2 separate regions of the Homo sapiens genome follow, and region 2 is linked to region 1. The links are contacts of gene promoters, found by promoter capture Hi-C in human tissues and cell types (Jung and others, 2019). All regions are on one chromosome and are shown on one strand. The core of a region is centred on a gene start or on the middle of the fragment in contact, and the rest is flanking DNA. Distances in the headings are between cores, read along the strand shown. Region 1 holds the start of MYO15B (myosin XVB). Region 2 overlaps SAP30BP (SAP30 binding protein).

What was found. The method cuts DNA at HindIII sites, captures the fragments that hold promoters and counts their contacts. A contact is called where the count stands out against the background at its distance.
Region 2: a fragment that was not itself captured here is called in contact with the fragment with the promoter of MYO15B in region 1 in 3 of the 25 tissues and cell types used here (IMR-90 fibroblasts, small bowel and spleen).

What each region holds. Positions count from the first base shown.
Region 1 is chr17:75,586,550-75,589,049 of GRCh38, forward strand. MYO15B (myosin XVB) reads left to right here and starts at 1,251. Exons shown (of 64, transcript NM_001395058.1): 1 at 1,251-2,500. The coding sequence starts at 1,509. RefSeq lists enhancers at 1,067-1,900, 1,403-1,472, 1,901-2,500 and a silencer at 2,353-2,482. The HindIII fragment of the contact is 22,601 bases long and covers 1-2,500 here.
Region 2 is chr17:75,704,876-75,708,963 of GRCh38, forward strand. It overlaps SAP30BP (SAP30 binding protein), which reads left to right. Exons shown (of 11, transcript NM_013260.8): 10 at 1,133-1,217; 11 at 1,465-3,184. The coding sequence ends at 1,646. Among named protein-coding and RNA genes, the nearest start is that of ITGB4, 15 kb to the right of the region's middle. RefSeq lists an enhancer at 1,516-2,715. The HindIII fragment of the contact is 8,365 bases long and covers 1-4,088 here.

The sequences.
Region 1 (2,500 bases), core at 1-2,500:
GCATGTGCCACCACACCTAGGTAATTTTTGTATTTTTAGTAGAGATGGGGTTTCACCATGTTGGCCAGGCAGATCTCGAACTCCTGACATCAGGTGATCCACCCACTTCGGCCTCCCAAAATGCTGGGATTACAGGCATGAGCCACCTCACTTGGCCAGGATCCACTTTGGATGTAGAAACCCATCAATAAGGAATTGGTTCAACCATGGTGCATTTATTTGCAAGGAAGAGAGGGAGGAGAGAAGGGAGGAAGGCAGGCTGGCTTTTTATGGTATTATTATGAAATCACCAGATTACATTGTTAAGTGAAAAAGGCAAAGTGGAGACCCCGGAGCTACATAAGCTACCACTTGTGCTAAAGGGGAAAAATATAATATTTGCTTTTCTCTGCATGGAAAGTTTTTGTTGTTGTTTCTTTGTTTTTGAGACAAACAAAATGCTGTCACCCAGGCTGGAGTGCAGTGGTGTGATCTCAGCTCACTGCAAGCTCTGCCTCCTGGGTTCATGCCATTCTCTCCTGCCTCCTGGGTTCATGCCATTCTCTTGCCTCAGCCTCCCGAGTAGCTGGGACTACAGGCGCCCCCCACCACGACCGGCTAATTTATCGTATTTTTTAGTAGAGACGGGGGTTTCACCATGTTAGCCAGGATGGTCTCCATCTCCTGACCTCGTGATCCGCCCTCCTTGGCCTCCCAGAGTGCTGGGATTACAGGCGTGAGCCACCGCGCCCGGCCAACCTGGAAAATTTTGCAAGGAAATACAGAAATGGGTAACCTCAGGGGAACACTGAGTACATAGGCTGAGGGTCAGGAATGGGAGACTTTTATCTTGTAATGTTTGGATGTTTGAATTATGTGAATGTATTACCTGTTTTAAAAATAGATATTTTAAAAACACACACATTGGGGCAATCAGGAATGTATGGGGTGTGGTTCTGTTCCACAACTCCAAGGAGGTAGACAGGCATGTTTTACACCAGTTCAAGATGTACATTTATGTTTTATGTACTTTTCGGTAAATTGTATTTATTCCACAATTGAAAAGAACAAAAACCCTAGCGACTCATGGAGTGCTGCCGTGTGCCAGGGTGGGCCTGGCCCCAGTCCCTTGGAACCCTCAGAAGGAAGAAGTCCAGACAGGTTCTCTGGGCCCTTCCTTGCTGGGCAAGCACTGAGGTGGGAGTGGAGCATGGACCCCCTCAGTCTGGCGCGGTGCGAGGCTGGCCTGGCTGGCAGCGCCTCCCGGCGGCACTGTTGCCCTGTCCGCAGCTGTAGCGTCTCCTGTTTCCTGGGCGCCTCTATTCCATTGTTGGCCGAGGGGGTCAGGACCCGCCGCCTTCTGCATTATTGATGGTCCTGTAAGGCGGGCACCTCGGGGAGTAGAGCCTGTAGCCCCTGCGAGAGCAGAGCCGGGTGGTGCACTGCACAGAAGGTCACCGCGGGAGGCCAAATCCCCGGGGAGGGGAAAGGACCTGGGCGTCGGGAAGCCCGTCTCCTTTGGGCCAGCCATGGGCAGGAACCAGCGCAAAGCGCCCCAGCGCCTGGAGAGGCCCGGGAGGCCGGCCTCAGGGGAGCAGGAGTCGGGGTCGGCCAGCGCGGATGGCGCGCCCAGCCGGGAACGCCGTTCCGACCGCGGGCAGGCGGACAGGGCGAAACCGGCGGCCGAGCCTGCCACCGCCGGGGGCCAGGGAACCCCTGGTGGCCGCAGGAAGCCCACTGCAGAGGGGAACGGCGGCTGCAGACGCCCAGGGGCTGGGCTGTCCCCGAAAGCCCAGGAGAGGCAAAGCAACGCGCAGCGTCAGGGACGCGGGCCCAGGGGCGGCCGCGGGGGGCGCCTGGAGGAGGGAAGCCTCTCCGGAGGAGAAGAGCTGGGCGGCCGCCGTAGGAGGAAGCGGAAAGATAAGGGGCCCTCGGCTCGGCGGGGCCGCCGGACGCCCAGGAGCCTCAATGGGGACACGTCGGGTGGGGACGGAGGCAGCTCCTGTCCGGACAGCGAAACCCGCGAGGCCCAGGAGAGCGGCAGCCAGCGCGGCACAGCCCGGGAGCTGCGGCCCACGCCGGAGCCTACGGACATGGGCTCGGAAGGGACAAAAACCGGGCCGGAGTCAGCGCTGGAGCCAAGCAGCGACGGCCTGGACAGCGACTGGCCCCACGCAGATACCCGGGGCCGGGAAGGGTCGTCGGGGACGGGGCCCCTGGGAGCCAGCGAGCATTCCGGCGGGGACTCCGACTCGAGTCCGCTGGGGACCGGACCTGGACGGGGCTCTCGGGCAGCTATGGCCTCCAGGACCTTCGAGGACAGCTCGCGGGCTCCTCGGGACACTGGGCCGGCCAAGGACGCGAGCGACAACCGGGCGCAGCGGGGCGCCGAGCCAGAAACAATGCAGGCCTCGACGGCCCGGGCTCCGCGCCACCAGGTCGGAAAGGCGGTGGGGCAGGTGCCAGCGGCGGCAGGCGAGGGCGAAGCGGGAGCCGCAGCAGGAGCGGGGCCGGAGGACCC
Region 2 (4,088 bases), core at 895-3,394, 120 kb after region 1:
CTGAGCCCAGAAGGTGTCCAGGCTGCCCCCAACCCTGGCCCCGTGTCATCACCCGGCGATGCTCTGAGCCTCTCAGCAGGGCCTGTGTGCTGAGCAGACCTGCTGGGTTCACGGCGCTCGTCTGCTGCTTTTGCCCTCGGAGACTTGTTTGCTACATTGTGCCCCCCTTTCCTCCCCGCCAATTGCAGAGCCTTGGGGGGCTTTGTCCGTTTTGGGTCATGGGGGCCCTTTGTAGCCTGAAGGGAGGGAAATAGTTCCCTAAGAGAGTGCCAGGCCCAGCTTGCGCTGCTCGGTGAGTGTCTTGGCCTCCAGAGCTGCCCTCAGTGGCTCGCCTGGGTGCTACCTATTAGGTCCCACGTTAGGGCCCTGAGCACCACTTGTTCCCTGGCAGTGTGGTCTGGGTTCTTCAGGGAGCATCAGTTTGGCTGGGAGACCAAACTGTTATCTCTGGGCCTTGTTCCCTTTGTGACCAGTCTCAGAGCCGGGCATCAGGACACCAGCTCCTCCCACTTCTGGCTCGGCCTGACCATCCTCAAGCAGCTGCGGCCTCCAGACCGCTTCCCTCACCCCAAGCAGAGGGGCTGTGGGGCCTGGGCATGCTGGTGGCCCTCTGGAGGTGCTGGCTGCTGGGCCAGGAACGTGGGAGCTGGTGCAAGGGGATAGTTGGGGTTTCTCATTCTTAACCCTTGATTGAATCTCCCTTCTCTCTCTTTCCCTCTCCCTTCCAAACCCCAGGCTTGTTGCAGGGACGTGTCTGCAGCGCCTGGGGACCGGAGCTGTCCTTCCCCTGTGCGGGCGGGCACCGCCTCCTCCTGGGTGTGAGGAGGAGGGGCCTGGCCAAACGGTTCTGGGCATGTGAGGTGGGGCGGTGGGCGGGGGGTGCCGGGCATGTGCAGAGACCTGGTGATGCCGGGAGGGATACAGTACTGTTTGGAAAGTTCTTTTAAGAGTGAAAAGCCCCTTTGGGTTCTTCTTAGACATCTCGCCCTACCCCAGATGGGCAGAGCAGAGTTCATTTCCAATGCCTCTTTTGTGTAGTGCCAAGCTCCTGTCCCCCAGGAGCTGACGGATGGCAAAAAGCTGTGGACACCCAGCTTTGCCTGGTCTTATTCTCTTCCCTCTCCCTCTCCAGATTGAGTTTGTGACGGGCACCAAAAAAGGCACCACGACCAACGCCACGTCCACCACCACTACCACTGCCAGCACAGCTGTTGCAGGTAGATTGCAGAGCTGCCCTGCCTCCTGCCACACACATGGAGCCAGGGTCTCCCTGGCTTGTTTGGGCGACAGACAGCACGTGGATCTGGGCCTGGGCTCAGCCTTGCTACTTTGAGAAGCACCTTTGGAGTCTGGGGTGGGCCACTTCGGGGTCTGCTCCCTAGACTCCCGCTGGCCTGCAGGGGGAAGGGAAAGAGGGCACCGCTCATTGGTGGATCGTGATCCTGATTTCTGCTTTATCTCCAGATGCTCAGAAGAGAAAGAGCAAGTGGGATTCGGCTATCCCAGTGACAACGATAGCCCAGCCCACCATCCTCACCACCACAGCCACCCTGCCAGCTGTTGTCACGGTCACCACCAGCGCCAGCGGCTCCAAGACCACCGTCATCTCTGCTGTGGGCACCATTGTGAAGAAGGCCAAGCAGTGACCTGAGGGGCCACCCTAGGACTTGAAAGGACCGTGCAGCCCAGTGACCACTGCCCAGTGGGAGGCGCCACTTTGTATATTTCAGGACTGGGACCTACTCCCCAGATGCCACCTGAGAGGAGCTTCTGTTTGGCATTCCAGATGGAAGGACAGGCAGCACGGGAGCCAGGCGCTGTGGACAGGGTCTGTCCACGCACCACCTGGGGTCTGCCGCCTATTAAAAGTGCCGTATTCTTACCTCTTGGCATCTCAGATGCACTGGCCTCTCCTGCATTCTGTTTGCAGGCAAATGCTTCAGCTCACATGTCCCCCAAGACTCAATAGTCTTGGTTGGGACTATTGCCTCAGGGTTGACAACAGGGTGATGGAGGCCTGGGACGCTGTTCAGAGGGGTGACCCAAGAAGTCACCGTTGTTATCCGTGTATGCCTCTGGGCATGGACAGGCGGGAGTCCCCGAGCCCCACGTATGCCCCATCTGCCGCCTTGATCCCAAAACCCAGCCAGTTCTCGGGTGATGGTGGAGCTGTGCTCCCTTGAGTGCACTTGAGCACTCCCCAGACCAGATCACTTTTTGGACACACCCAGGAAGGCTTTTGAAGTCAAGCCAGTTTCCAGAAGGGCTGGGGTGAGATCCTGACCTGTGCAGAGAGTGGGGAGGCGTCAGCGCCTGGCCAGGGCTGCCCCAGTCCTTTGGTGCCCGGTGAGCGCAGCCAGCAGGAGCTGAGCAGCGGGGGAGATGAATCACCTCCTGCCTTGGCGAGGCGGCAGCTCATTGTTTACAGGCAAGCCCTGCTCCTGGGAGGGCTCCTGCCACCCCACCCTTCCTCTGTGTGTTATCTCTGCCCCACAGCAGCCCCTGGGCAGCACCAGTGGCCACTGGGCTCCCCCCGGGGTTGAAACGGGTTTCCCAGACCAGGGGTTCAGAGGAGACTATTTACCCTTCATGATCTTTGGCGATTCTCCACTGGAGCGGAAGGGCTGTGTGTCAAAAGAAGGAAGCCAGGCTGTGAAGGGCCGTGTTGCTTTCAGTGGGTGGGCAGAGGTTTAGAAAGGTGGTTCTGAAATGGCACCTGGTACTCTTGTGGGACCTGGGGAATATAAGGAACTCTGTGCATGAGGTTTCAAAAATAAAAATTGAGTCCACTCTCCCCGTACACACACACTCGGGCACTTCAGGAGGTCAGTTCTCACCCCTTCCTCGATGGGGCTTTAAAGCTCTGGGGAGAAGAGCTGCTCCCCACTCATGCCCCAGAGGGACTGTGAAAAGGCTTCCTGTGACCTCCGATGGCGGCCCCTCATTGGCCAAGGGCACTGTGGATGTTTTGTGGGAGGCAGCATGGCACCGTGGAAAGGGCAGTAGACGTGGAGCCGGCACCTCTGGTCTGGATTCCACTTAAAACCAGTTGAGTGGTCTCAAGCCCTTAACCTCTGTAAGCCTGTTTCTTCTCTGAAATCACAGTAATAAAGCGTCGTAAGATGGTTGGGAAGAACCAGAGGTGACTTATGCAAAAGCTTTATAAACTGTAAAGTTCCTGCCAGTGTTTTTTGTTGGCTAAATCCAATTTTTTTTTGTTGTAGACCAAGGAGAGAAGCAAACTCCTGGCCTGTCCCCCGTCTCGTGCTCTGTCGGCGGGGTAGGGTTTGGCAGGTCTTTCCCCTCCCCGCTTTCCTCTGGGCAGCCCTGGCGCTGCCATTCATCTGTCCAGTTAAAGCAGTAATGACTGTCTCCTGCGGGGCCGCAGAGGTAGGGGGCCTGGAGAATGAACATAGGCTTAGAAGTTGGGCAACCCCAGGCCAAAACTGCTGCCCCACTTACCAGCCTCGTGAGTTGGGTCAAGGTTTTTAATCCTTCTAGACTTTCATTTACTCTTCTATAAAATGGTGCTTGCCCACCTTAGTCACATCAAGGATGGCCCAGAGGTGTGTGAACAGTTCCTGTTGTGGGTGGATGGCCCAGGCACTAGGGGCCAAAGTTGTTTCTAACCAGTGTGTGTCTGCTCGCCAGAGAACAGTGTCCAAACTGAACTCTGTCCACGGCTCCTACTGTCCCCCACCCACACACCTGCTACCTCTCCCGAGGGCTCTGATCTTGGGTGGGCATCAGGATTCATTTAGCTTCCCACCTTGCACATGTAGTACCCCAAGATGTGTCTCAGGTTTGTATAATCCCCTCCTGACTCTGCTGGACAGGTAGGTGCTCCTTTCTCAACACTCACAGCACCCCCTTGCTTTTAGGATCACACTGAACTGCCGTGTAATCTCTGCCCACAAGCGGGATGAGACAGCTCATGTCTCCTAGTTCTTGTAAGCAGAAACAAAGCAGGCATAAATAACACTCTGCTCCAGTGCCTGGCATGAGATAAGTACACAGGTGGTTGGGGGAATGGAGGGATGAAAGGAGAGGTGAGTTTGCTCATCTTCCAAAGGGGTGGTCTCTGCTCC